Linked DNA regions of Homo sapiens: regions 1, 2 and 3 are each linked to region 4. Evidence: promoter capture Hi-C in human tissues and cell types (Jung and others, 2019). All regions are on one chromosome and are shown on one strand. The core of a region is centred on a gene start or on the middle of the fragment in contact, and the rest is flanking DNA. Distances in the headings are between cores, read along the strand shown.

Region 1 (3,435 bases), core at 155-2,654, 500 kb after region 4:
AGGGTCACAGAGCCTCCACTGGTCTGGAACAGCACCATCTGGAACGCTTAGCCTCTCTGTAGATATTCTCTGGGAAAGAGGATTTTGGAGGGGTTTGTATGGTCAATTAAGTGTATGGGAATGACACACAGCATCTCACTCACTCAAGTGCAAGGGGACTGGGAACTGGATCCTGGTGTATCTTAGTGTCTATCACACACTTAGTCACACTTTGTCACCTAGGCTCCAAAGCAGTGCTATGAGGGCCCCCATGCCTCAGAAAATCCCTCATCAAGGCAGTCTTCTCATCTTCTCTTGAAGCACTTCTCTTCTTAGGGATTAGATAAGGCTTCCAGGGCAAGATCCCATGAACCTATTCCTCTTCCTGGTCATGTGTGCAATGTGCAAACAAAACCTCACATTGTGTTTTAGCCATAAAAAGCTCTGAGCTATGGTCCTGTTGGAAAAGAGTAAAAGGATGATCGAGCTCAGGGAGAGCCCTGCTGGGGCTGGCTAACATGGATCAGTTTTATGATTTGATGCCAGCAAGCTGGGTGGCTCAGAGTTGGAGACAGTGGAATAATAAATCTCTACAGTTAGAGCTTAACAAAGCATGCCTTTTAATGTAGTTAGGAGGACACTATTAAAATGGCTCACCTTGGGAACACAGACAATAGGAGGAGAGAGACTAGGGCAAGTTTGAGGGACTGGTACAATTACATAGGCAGGGAGCCATTGACTCTACCCAATGACCTTGTTAGATGGGTAATATTATCCCCAATTAACAACTGAGGAAACTGAGGCTCAGAGAGGTTTTATGATTTGCTCCAGCTCATAAAGCTTGAGAGAGACAGCGGCAGGACCAGGACTCAAGTTTGTTAAACACTAAGAACAGTGTTGTTTTCACAGAGAGGGAAGAGCCAAGTCATATGAGAAGATTAGCATAAGCCAACAAGGCCATGTGCCCATCTAGGTAGCCATGTGGCTTGCCACATTCCCAGCCCAGCCTGCCCAATGGGAGCCTCATGCTCCCTGTCCAAAGCCTCCGGAGAATGACACTTGGGAGAATAATAATCATGTCTTCTTGCATGTGGTCCTGTGAACCAGCATGACAGGTAAAGGTCATGGCTGCAGCAAGGGATTTCCCATCTGTTGATACTCAAATTCTTCAGCCAACCACTCCAAAATTGAAATGCATATTTAATAAGCTGACTCTCTGCAACAAAGCAATTTAATTCACTGATAATTATGCAGATCCACCTCTCCCTCTCAGGGTGCCAGCTTCACTCTCGGTGTCCTCAATTTGGCATATTGCAAACCCCTACATCTGTCTCAGGCATTTACATTCCCAGAGTTATGATTATTATTTTGGAAATGTCAAGAATTCAGAGTCCTGCAAAAGTATGGCCTTTCCACTAGGGCTGGCAGATAAAATGCAGGATGCCCAATTAAATTTTAATTTCATATAAACAATGAAGAATTTTTTAGTATGTCTCGAATATTGCATAGAGCATACTTTTACTAAGCGCTTGTAGGTTAAGTATTCAAATTTTATGGGGCATCTGGTATTTTTATTTGCTGATTCTGGCAACTCTATTTTGCACGCCAAATTAAGGTTTCTAATTGGTCATAGGTTTCAGCTGCATCTTTAGCTCCAGGACAGAAGGAACCTCAAGGATGTATTCTCTCTCCTCCTGAAAGAACTGAATTTGGTTACAGTGAATTTGCTTATGCTGACTTTTTTTTTTTTTTTTTTTTTGCCCCAAGCAGCAAGGTTGATTCCATGAGATGCAGACCTTAAGCAAGAGTTGACTGGCTGGGATTGAACCTGTGACTCCAGGTGGGCCAATCAGATCTGTTTCTGAGAACTAGGATTGAAAGAGGGAGACCTTGAGCAGAGTCTTTGCAAGTGGTTGGAACTGAGGTGACAGTTTGTGAGACACCCATTATCTCTCCCACACTTCCTCCTCTTTTCACTGAGCTAGACTCACTTGATTTTTGTTAATTTGAAACCAAAAACAACTTATCTAAGAAAGGGTGCTAAGCCAAGACAGTGGTTAGTAGAAGCATGAAGGAATCTTTTCTTGGGATTGCTGTGCTCATCTCTTCCCCATGCACCCAAATCCTACCTTCTTCAAGACCAAATTCAATCTCATCTTCTTCATGAAGCCCTTGTTAATGGTCCAGCACATAATAAAACATTAACTAATTTTCTCATTACCAAGGGCTTTCTCAACTGAAATTTGAGTAAGTGGAATTCCACCAGAAGAGTAGGGCTTTATGGAAATGATGAAGGAGATATTTATTTTCGAAATGTCCATATCTCTCCCCTAAAAACTCCACAGGCAGCCAATCCTTTCATTGCCTGAGGCCCCTTCTAGGCTGCACCCTGTGTGAGGTAGAACAAAGAACACTCCACTAGGATGCAGCAGATTCTCCTTCTGGTTTGACGTCCACTCTTGCCCCTTCACTTGGCATGCACCCTTGTTCCCTACCTGCTCCGGTTCTACATTGCTTCCGAGAGGACCAACAGCCTTCTCTCCAGGCTTTCCCCACTGTAACCTCCTCCATACACTACTGCAGATAAAGTCTCTGATTAACAACACCAATATACAAAGGAATGACTGCTTCAATTTATAAAGAGCTTATACAGATTAATAAAATAAGAAAATCACTACGACCCCAGTAGTCTATGCCTTACCCTCCTATAAAGTGCGCACAGAGCTCTGCCTCTCCCCCTCCTTTTTTTTTTTTTGCACATACTGTCTCTTCTGCTTGGAATCTCCTGGTCTTGCTTCTCTCTTGTTTAATCTTTAAGATGGAGCTTAAATGTCACTTCCTCTTTGAAGTCTTCCCAGGCTCTTTTCCAATCCCTCTGTTGCAGCTGAATGAGTTTTCTCCTTCTCTGTGCTCTCCTGGCACTTTGTACATTGTTGTATTATAGTATTTATCACACCATATTGTACCTATTGTCACACTTATTTGCTTACATTTCTGCCTCCTCCCACAGGCTATGAGCCCCTCAAGGGCAAGGGCAGTGTCTTTCTTGTGTATTCAGCACCCACACAATGCCAGCCATGTAGCAGATGTCCAGATTTAAAGGCTGGTCAGGATGACAGTAAATCCTCCCACTCATCCCTGCTACCCCATGGGTTCCTGGCCAAGTTGTATATAAGGAACAGCAGTCAAATGAAGAACAAAGTACGAGCTTTCACGATGATTTGCCAGTACTATAAAACCCCCAAATGAAGGTGTTTTTGGATAAAAGCTGGATAATAGATCAGAGCCTTAGATCTGAAGAAAATGTGGCCACCTTTTCTCTGTTCCTCAAGTCTAGACTGCCTGGCCATGCAGTGCCATCTCTAAGTCCACTTACCCAACCAGCTTCATGGGTAGGGATGGCCAGGTTGCATGACAAACCCAGTAATGGGCAGAGAATCAGGTACAGAGAGAAGG
Region 2 (3,648 bases), core at 554-3,053, 490 kb before region 4:
ACTCTTCAGAGGTCTCCAACTCCCCAAACAATCTGTGGACAACCTCAAAGCAGACAGTCATTTTCCCCAGGACACAAAATCTTGTTTCCACATAATGAATGTTATTCTGCCTCTACTAGAAACTCCAAGTTCTCCAGCCCAACACAGCACTCAAGGGCCCCTAAGAATGAGTCAACAGAGAGATGTCACTTGGGCACGTTGCCCTGCCGGTATAGGCTGGGATGTTCACAACAATCTTGATGCAGACAAAGAAGCAGGAGGTGACAACAGGTTTCTCACTTTGAACTGATCTCAGCTCACACCTTCCTCCTAGTTACCTTATCTCAGCACTCATCTTTCAGATTTGTCATCTGGGTTTCTTTGCAAAAAAATTAAAGAATGTAAGACATCATGGTCCATTTCTATTCTTCCCTTTTAAGTTACCACAGCAATTTGCCCTTGGTGACTGGAGGCCTTGCTTTAGTCAGCACCTGTGTGCCGTTTACCACCAGAGGCTTGGCCTTCTCCACACTTTTTAAAGAGACCCGTTGACAGAATCGTTACAACCATTCAGCCAGGGTTGTGGACCCTTGGCACATTCGTCCTTGGCACTGCTGACATTTGGGACCAGGTAATTATTTGTGTGTGTGTGGGCGGGGGGAGGGGGGCTGTCTGTTCTGTGCATTACTGAAGGATGTTTAGCAGAATCCTGGCCTCTATCACTAGATATTCCAGTAATACTCCCCTACTCGTGCCAACTGAAAATGTCTCCAGACATTGCCAATTGTCTCCTGGGAGACAAAAATCGCTCCTGGTTTATTGAGAACCACCGCTTAAATGGGAAAACAAGGCTCCAGGGCAGATGTCCTCAGAATGTCTTTATGTCACTGGATCTCCACCAGAAATCACCATTCCTGCCCTTCTGGCCCAGGCATGTCCCTACACTGATTTCTTCTCTTATAACAGAGAAAAGTCAGCTTCTCCTGAAGATTGACCCTTATCCTCCTGTTGATGACAGCAGCAGCCAAGAGGCAGCAGTTTTTCTCAAAACTGTTAGCCCATGAGTAACAACTTCTTCTTTTTTAAAAATTCTTTATTTCTGTAGGTTTTGGGGGAACAGGTGGTATTTGGTTACATGAGTAAGTTCTTCAGTGGTCATTTGTGAGATTTTGGTGCACCCATCACCCGAGCAGTATACACTGAACCCTATTTGTAGTTTTTTATTCCTTACCCTCTCCCACCCTTTCCCCCAAGTCCCAAAAATCCATTGTATCATTCTTATGCCTTTCCGTCCTCATAGCTTAGCTCCCACTTATGAGTGAGAACATATGATGTTTGGTTTTCTGTTCCTGAGTTACTTCACTTAGAATAGTATTCTCCGATCCCATCCAGGTTGCTGCAAATGCCATTAATTCATTCCTTTTTATGGATGAGTAGTAGTCTATTGTATATATATACCACAGCTTCTTTATCCACTCATTGATTGATGGGCATTTGGGTTGGTTCCACACTTTTACAATCGCAAATTGTGCTGCTATTAATATGCATGTGCAAGTATCTTTTTCATATAATGACTCCTTTTCCTCTAGGTAGATACCCAGTAGTGAGATTGCTGGATCAAATAGTAGTTCTTATACCAGAGTGAGAAGGGTTTCACTGCAGAAACCCTCAGTAAAAAGGCTGCTGGGCTGCTGGATTTCCTGCCTAGATGAGCAGTGCTCCCCTGGAAAGACACAGGCTGGAACCTTCAGGAGCTGATTGGCTCACCTCTCCTCTGTTTGGGTGTAGCCCCCAAAAGGGCTACCCCACTTGGACTCCCTATACCACAGCTCAGTGCATGGCAGGATGCCCACATTGTTTACACTCCTGAGGATACCATCAGTACCTTCAGGTACAATGGTGCCCACCAGTTTAAGGCACAGCATATTGAAGGGCCTTCAAGTCAGGTCTCCTAACTCCTACCCAGCCCTGCAGTCACCTTTGATAAGTAAATATCACATCAACACGTGTAACCCAGATGGCATAGCCTAAGGAAGCTTGTCTTTCTGGAAAATGACCTAACTATACCAATCTTCATTAAAAGGTGCTGAAATGCCAACATGGAAGCAATCCCAAATGTAATAGAAAGGTCATGTTTTAATCTAAAGAACTGAACTCATTTTTCAGAACATACAGTCAACATATGCAAGCAAATCATGTTGAGCTGTGATCCAAATGGATGTTTTTCTAGTTTTAGTTTTAGTTGTTAAATGATACAAATATTTCTGCCCCTTTAGAGTGATAGCCAAACACTTAGTCATCATGTAAGTCACTGTAATACTGCATCTTGGAAAGGAGGTATCAACAGCAATGAACAACTCTGTAACATTCCAGCACCCTACTAAGGTGGGCAGAGCTCAAGTTTCCTAACACACTTTCCCAACAGCTCTCTGATCAACCCCCGCAGATTAATAAACTTCTAATGTGGGAAGAGGTTCTAGGCATGAAGGAATTGGCTTGCTTTTAGTCGGTGTGAGATCCTGGAGAATCCTAATGAAAACAGCAATAACTACATGATGAAATACCAAATATTCGTATTCAAACTGTGCTTAAATATACCCAACAGGGTATACTGCCAAATATATTTTTTTCTGTTGGGTAGTTTTATGACTTAATGAAACCAATATGTCACTAATCACCCAAGATTCATGCTTCAGATGTGAATGGCCCCTCTATTTTGTTTCAAATTGCTCATCAATCTCTACTAACCATGTCTGTGGAAATGTCACCAGGATATTTTCTGGCTCTGAATTCATGAATGTTAAAAGTACAATAATTTGCATTCATACTAACTGGCTTCAAAGTGCAAATGAGTAACCGGTTAGAGGTAAAAGAACATTGTTCTGAGAGAGATAGGAGATGGATGTTTCCATAAGGTGACCCTGAGCAGGTGACTTAACAACCAGGCTTCAGTTTCTTTATTTGTAAATGATGGGATTGGATACATTCAATGTCTCCCAAACTTCAGATTTAAGTACAACCTTCATGATTGTTGCCAAATATATGGGTTACCTCTTCTACTAATTATTCTATTAATTATTTTTAAATACGCACTTTTTAATATAAATTAATCTTAAAAGGAAATTTTATACTGATACCATAAATGGAAAATTAATGTCAGTTGACATAAATATAGATAACTAAATGAAAGCAAAAAGAATGTATTAAATTCTAACTAAATTTGATGTTGCCAGCTGAAGGGTAAGGTCCTATCCTCTGACTAAAAAAGGACCTGTTTACATGGTCCACATGGGATACAGTGGGAGTCCACAAAGTAAATAATGAGGCTTTGTGGGCCACAGAACCTCTGGTGCAAGTAGGTAACTACTCTGCCATTGTAGCGTGAAAGAAGCCATAGGCCAAATGTAAATGAATGGGTTGGCTGTGTTCCAATAAAACTTTATTTACAAAAATAAGTAATGGGCCAGATATGGTCCTCAGTCTGCAGTTTGCCAACCCCTGGATTAGACGAGTGTGAAAGATCCACTATCACTAAGCAAAGACTTAATCAGAAGAGTTGGGAGAGAATTTTAAAAGGAGTTCCTTTCCTAGCTGGAGGTCCAATGGCTTTAATGCTTTCAGTGTTCCATGTCACCCATTTGGAAAAACCTGGGTTCAATTTTCACTTTA
Region 3 (3,223 bases), core at 438-2,937, 460 kb after region 4:
ATAAGCCAAGTTTCCCTTGCTGCCACCTCACTGCCACCTGCTTCTGGCTGGGTGACAGATTGTATGTAGGGTGGAATGGGCCAGGTGGGAGGGAAGCCAGGTAACCCTCTAAACAGTCTGCTGGGTTCTCATATCTTCAGAGCACTTGGATCTCATGGACACTAGCAAGGATGAGGGGCTTCTGATGTGTTGCAGTGTTTTAAAATTGTTCAGAGTTTAGCATGGACTGAACTTGCACCATATAAAGAGAAAACAATGAGGAATAAGACAAAGGTGGCTTTTGCTTTATGTGGTATGATCCCTGTTTGCTTGAAGTATACTCATGGAGTAGACAGACCGTTATCTGACAGTATTTAGGAGCTTCAGAATCAATAATGTTGGACAAGTAAATGTTCAGCCAGGAAGTAACGTATGCCACTTTCACTTACAACTCATTGGTCAGAACTAAACACAAAGTTAACTGTAAAGATCCATGGAAGTATTGTGTGCCTGGAAATGGAGAGAATGGGAAAGATTTGCACTAATATGATAGCACTAAGGACTATCATAAATAATAATAGCAGTTCACAATTATTGATCATTTACCATGTGCTGAGCCTTTTATATGTATCATCTCATTGAATCATCACAAAAATCTATATTTTGTCTTTATTTTACCGATATAGAAACTGAGACTTAAAGAGCTTAAGTACTGTACCTTGCTCGACATCACACAGATGCTAAGTAATGGAGTTGGAATTTAAGCTTAATTTTACCTGCTTCCCAGAGAATAGACTTTTAAAACACTGTCCTCAACCACCTTTGGACTTAATTGGTCCCCTGTTGTTGGGCATTGGGTAGTTTCAATTTTATTCCAATGAACAACCTTGTGTCAGATCTTTTGAATCATCTGCGATTACTTCCTTAGGATAAATTCCTAGGTACATATTTGCTTAGTTGAAATATACACACATTTCAAGAATAAAAACCTTTTGCAAAAAGTGAAAGCTTTAGGAGGTGTGGTAGTCTTCTAAGATGGCTTTTTTCAATCCTTTCCTTCCTTTTTTGAAAAATACATCACCATTAAGAGGTGGAGTTTACTTCCCCTCCCTTGGAATCTGGACTGGTCCTGTGATTGCTTTGGATGCAATGAAAGTGATATTCTGAGACATCTAAATCCAAGTCTTAAGAGACTGGCAGTTTCTGTTTCCTTCCTTTTAGGGTCCTGCTGCCATGCTGTGAGAAGCCGAAGTTTCATGGAGAGGCCACATGGAGTGAAAACAAAGGTGATAGGGACAATAGCTCCACCTGAGATCCTGATTAATACACAGACTTTAGCCATCTTGGATGCTCCAGCCTAATCGATCTCCCACTTGACTCTAGTCTCACCTGACATTATGTAGAGGAAAACCATCCAGCTCCACCTAGTCAACCCACAGAATAATGAGATGATCATAAGACTGTAGTTGTTTAACATTATTAACTTTTGGGGTGGTTTATTACACAGTGATAGATAAATAAAATGGGAGTTATTATCCGTGTCTTTATTTGCACATATATCTGAATATTTCAGATCTACTTCCCCCTGAACTCTGCAGGGTATAGGTAGCATTGTGAAATATTGGAGGCCAGGACAAGGGGTAGAGAGGCCTCTTGGTCCATGATGCCTGAGCTGGCCCACTCTCCAAATCAAAGCTTTTCTTGATTTTAGTTGTTGCTCATGAAGGATCCCGCGCCACAGGTCCCAGATCCTAAGCAAATAAGAACTCATTTATCAAGCATAGATACTCAGTAGGTACTGGAGTTAAGTTCCTGTTTGGTGTTGCCAAAAACAGAGGTTTCCATTATTTAAGGATATACACTGTGATAGGGAGTGCAAGTGCCCACCATGTACATGGCTGCCTGGGAGGTGCTTCTTATACTTTATGTAATTTAATCTTTTAAACAACCTTCTGAATAGTATATTGTCTCCTTAATTTGTGGGAGAAAACAAGTTTATAGAAGCTTATGAATTATCCATGGGCCATACAGCTGATAAGTTAGAAGCAGGTCTTGAGCCCACATTTGATTGATTACAAATCCTGCCTGCTTCCCACTATACTTGTGACTTGCAAATTAACTCATGTGCAAACCCCCTTCACCAATTTTGTCCCAGTAGCAAAGGAACTACCTATAGTATTTTTAATTTAACATTTTATTTGGCCAGGGTCATGGCTCACACCTGCAATCCCAGCACTTTGGGAGGCTGAGGCAGGTGGATCATTTGAGGTCAGGAGTTTGAGACCAGCCTGGCCAACATGGTGAAACCCCATCTCTACTAAAAACAAAAAAAAATTAGCCAGGTGTGGTGGTGAGTGCCTGTAATCCCAGCTACTCAGGAGGCTGAGGCAGGAGAATCGCTTGAACCGGGGAGGCAGAGGTTACAGTGAGCCAAGATTGTACCACTTCCAGCCTGGTGACAAAGCTAGACTCTGTCTCAAAAAAAAAAAAAAAAAAAAAAAAAAAGAAAACATTTTATTTACATTGATTCACATTTTTAAAACTTAAATGCACTTATTTCATACTAATACTAAAGAAGCCTTTTGTCACAATAGAAACAAGAAAATCCAATATTGAATTTTCAAATGAACCAATGAAAGGTAACAGTGAAAATAACCATGGGAAAAAAAAAACAGCACTATTGAGCTAGCTAGATACTCTTATTTGCAGAAGGTAGAGATGGAGGGGAAAGGTGTTAGAAGGTTATTAGAGACAGGGTAGCACCAAACTGAGAATTTTTTCTTGAGCTAATTAAAAGGATGGGAAGAGAATTGAAAGTTGTAACTTTCTCTGAGTCAGAGCTATTTTGTGCTGTACCTGGACATCATTTAAAACCATCTCATGGCCACACATGCTACTTAAGCGGTACATGTTTCACACTGCTGACACCTGGCTGCCTGTCACAGTTCTTCATGTATGAATCTATTACAATGTTGCTCCCTCTGAGAGCATAAGAATCAGTGCCACGGGTTGAAGGGCTGAATGTTTGTGCTCCCTTGCCCCCCAATTCATATGTTGAAATCCTAATCCTCAATGTGATCATATTAGGAAGTGGGCGGGGCCTTTGGGAGGTGATTAGATCATGAAGGTGGGGCCTTCCTGATAGTGATACTGGAGTGCTGGGTAGAGAAATGTGGGTCCCTGGCCAGGGCTCCACCCCTACAGACCTAGGTGAGGACAGGCTTTTGTGAGGACTAGGCTAGGT
Region 4 (3,226 bases), core at 657-3,156:
GTGAGCCACCACTCCCGGCCAGAAAAATGTTCTTAAGTGGATCTTGATGAATTCATTCATCAGTAACTAATGCCTGGAGGCTGTTCAGCTGGAGCCTCCCACCTGAGGCTGCTGGATAAATGAGCTGGTTCTAGATTTTGGCAATAATTAGCAGAGAGATGGATTCTGAAACCTGGGGGAGTGGATTAGGTGAGTTTGTGGAGGAAAAAGTTGGGTTGAAGAAAGAACGCTGAACCTGGTCAACATGAAAGAACCCCTCTCTACTGAAAATACAAAAAAGTAGCAGTGTGTGGTGGCCCGCGGGAGGCTGAGGTGGGAGGATGGCTTGAGCCAAGGAGGTTGAGGACGCAGTGAGCCGAAATTGCGCCTCTGCACCCCAGCCTGGGCGACAGAGCGAGACCCTGTCTCAGAAATAAATAAACAGATAAAATTTTAAAAAAGAAACCTGGAAGACAGATAAATGGTGGAAGAGAAACTGGTGAGAGTGAAGAGGAACAGGAAAAAAATCGGGGAAAACCTTTATGTTTATTTCCTACTGTGTAATATGGCACAATATTGTGCTGTACAGTATTGGCCAGCATTTTGTCAACAATCTTTACTTTCTAGAGTCAAGAAATATCTTAAAAGTATAAGAATTGTAGTAAATGTTAGTCTTAGAATTTTGAGATTTGGTGTTCTCCAGGTCGAATGAATGCTCCCTGATCTAGCCTCCCACGGTATATTTCTGTGTCTTTTCTTTCATAAATGCGTGAATGACTCCGGTCTTTGTTATTGGTGGTAGTGTCTCTTGTCCGGAAGCACGGAGAGTACGCATTCATTTCTGTATTTCCCAAGTTTCAGCCACATAATGACCGAAACTTAACAAGTTACTTAACCTCTCCAAACTCCAATATCTTCAAAATAGGATTTGCAAAATGGGAATCACTTTGGCTTTCATAAGGTGGTTGTTAGCCGAAAAGAAAAAATGTGCTTAACACAGTGACGGGAATGCACAGTGGTTGACAATTGGTACTTGCACCGGGCTTAGTGGCTCACGCCTATAATCCCAGCACTTTGGGAGAACGAGGTGGGCGGATCGCTTGAGATCAGGTTCGAGACCAGCCTGGGCAACGTAGGGAAACCCAGTCTCCACAAAAAATACACAAGTTAGACGGTCATGGTGGCGCGCGCCTGTAGCCCCAGCTACTTGGGGGACTGAGGCGGGATGATAGGTTGAGTCTGGGAGTTCGAGGCTGCAGTGAGCCATGATCTCACCACTGCACTCCAACCTGGGCGACAGAGCGAGACCCTGTCTCGAAATTATTTTATTTATTTTATTTTATTTTATTTTTTATTTTGAGACGAAGTTTCACTCTTGTTGCCTAGGCTGGAGTGCAATGATGCGATCTTGGCTCACCGCAACCTCCGCCTCCCGGGTTCAAGCGATTCTCCTGCCTCAGCCTACCGAGTAGCTGGGATTACAGGCGCGCGCCACTACGGCCGGCTAATTTTTGTATTTTCAGTACAGACCTGGTTACTCAATGTTGGTCAGGCTGGTCTCGAACTCCCGACCTCAAGTGATCCGCCCACCTTGGCCTCCCAAAGTGCTGGGATTACAGGCTTGAGCCACCGCGCCCGGCCTCTTATTTTAATTTTTAAAAAGGTACCTGCGAGTTTTAAACAGCTACTCTGGGGCCAGCGTGCTTTTTGATGCGTGCAGGTAAGGATCATTCTGTCCATCTCCTGACACAGAGAAGTCAAAACCTCCGTCCTGGGGTTCGGTCAGTTAGTGGGTCAGATAATCATCTCAGCTCAACCACTACTCCCAACCAGCAGCGGCCACGTCCCCGCGTCGCCCTCAAAGACTACAAGTCCCAGCGTGCCGCGCTCTGGGCCGTGGAAGCCCCGCCTTTTCCGGCGGGCCCCGCTTCCTCGTTGCCCCCGCCGCGGGCGCGAGATGGATTCCGGGTGCTGGTTGTTCGGCGGCGAGTTCGAGGACTCGGTGTTCGAGGAGAGGCCGGAGCGGCGGTCAGGACCGCCCGCGTCCTACTGCGCCAAGCTCTGCGAGCCGCAGGTGAGAAGCTGGGGCCTCTTCGCCTTATCCCGGGCCCCAGGCCTCGCCCTCCGCGGGGCCCCGGCCCCGGCCTCGGCCCCTCCGTCCGCGCGAACGCAAACCCTGGCAGGCTCCAGCGCCCGCCGCGTCCCCCGCCGTCCCTCCTCCTCCACGGGGAAGCGGCTTTCCCAGGCCCCATTCCGGGTCCATGGGCGAGAATCCCCGCGTTGTAAGCGGCTTGACTCCCACTTGGCATTTGGCCGGCCTGGCTGCTGCCGGCTGGTCTCAACGCCCCTGCCCTGCAATCTCCGGTACCTCCCGTTTGTCTTCACTGCTCTTACAGCTGGGCAGTCAGGCCTCCCAAAACGGTGACCTCCGGCAAACCCACTCTCCCCTCCCTCTTCGGCGAGCTCCCCCTGCCCGTACCAACCCCGCGCTGATGGTTAAAGTCCTTCAGTTATATCCGTTTTTCAAGGCACATCTTAAATGTCATCTCCTCTAGGAAGTCTTTTCTGATTTCGTCTTCCAGCCAAATATTTTTGTCTTTGGCCCCCTTCCCTCTATTTAGCTTCTACTTAAAGCACTTGTCAGTATTCCCACAAAGTCCTGAGACCCGGAGTGCTAAATGATCGCACCAGCATGGGTTCTTGATGCCCTTGGCAGTGCCTAACAGTTTTTATTAATAATAGTGACTCCGCGAATATTTTTGAATTAGTAGAGTATTACTTCCTATTCTTTCATGAGTGTAAATAGTTCATCAGTCAAAACTAATATTTATGGAAAATACGGAAGTGTTCCGGGCACTGTGGTGGGTTCCTTCGCATATACTGTCTCATTCGTTCCTCACAATTGTACTGACAAGATGCCAGGCACTCGATAATTACTGAATTGTGTTTTTGGTTATTTCAGTTGCATTTTCTCCTTATCACATACGATCTTTCAAAGTTACCTTCAGCCCTGGATCATGTAGACTCAAAACAGGGATTGGGCTTGGAAATCATGTGGCAGAACATTAAAAAAACTCTGGTTATGAGATAGGACTCTTGAATTCCAGTGTTGGCTTTAACCACTTGCCTTGAAGGTGTCAGCTCCTTATTTGTCCCTTCAGAAAAATAATACATGCTGGCTCACAGAGTTATCGTGGGAGTGAAATGAGATAATGTATATGAAAATACTTTGTCAGATCTGATGTGC

What was found. Contacts are between HindIII fragments. The study calls those that stand out against the background at their distance.
Region 1: a contact is called between a fragment that was not itself captured here and the fragment with the promoter of C8orf76 in region 4, in 1 of the 25 tissues and cell types used here (mesenchymal stem cells).
Region 2: a contact is called between a fragment that was not itself captured here and the fragment with the promoter of C8orf76 in region 4, in 2 of the 25 tissues and cell types used here (IMR-90 fibroblasts and lymphoblastoid cells).
Region 3: a contact is called between a fragment that was not itself captured here and the fragment with the promoter of C8orf76 in region 4, in 2 of the 25 tissues and cell types used here (dorsolateral prefrontal cortex and spleen).

Annotation. Positions count from the first base shown.
Region 1 is chr8:122,742,807-122,746,241 of GRCh38, reverse strand. No RefSeq gene overlaps it. Among named protein-coding and RNA genes, the nearest start is that of ZHX2-AS1, 37 kb to the left of the region's middle. The HindIII fragment of the contact is 3,392 bases long and covers 1-3,100 here.
Region 2 is chr8:123,724,631-123,728,278 of GRCh38, reverse strand. The region is part of intron 1 of ANXA13 (annexin A13); the gene reads left to right. The region is part of intron 1 of LOC105375739 (a long non-coding RNA gene); the gene reads right to left. Among named protein-coding and RNA genes, the nearest start is that of ANXA13, 11 kb to the left of the region's middle. The HindIII fragment of the contact is 8,461 bases long and covers 1-3,648 here.
Region 3 is chr8:122,776,175-122,779,397 of GRCh38, reverse strand. It overlaps ZHX2-AS1 (ZHX2 antisense RNA 2), which reads left to right. Exons shown (of 2, transcript XR_007061082.1): 2 at 1,201-1,514. Among named protein-coding and RNA genes, the nearest start is that of ZHX2-AS1, 3.8 kb to the left of the region's middle. The HindIII fragment of the contact is 3,632 bases long and covers 1-3,223 here.
Region 4 is chr8:123,240,057-123,243,282 of GRCh38, reverse strand. It overlaps C8orf76 (chromosome 8 open reading frame 76), which reads left to right and starts at 1,906. Exons shown (of 6, transcript NM_032847.3): 1 at 1,906-2,053. The coding sequence starts at 1,937. The region is part of intron 2 of ZHX1-C8orf76 (ZHX1-C8orf76 readthrough); the gene reads left to right. RefSeq lists a silencer at 2,000-2,119 and an enhancer at 1,620-2,120. The HindIII fragment of the contact is 18,562 bases long and covers 1-3,226 here.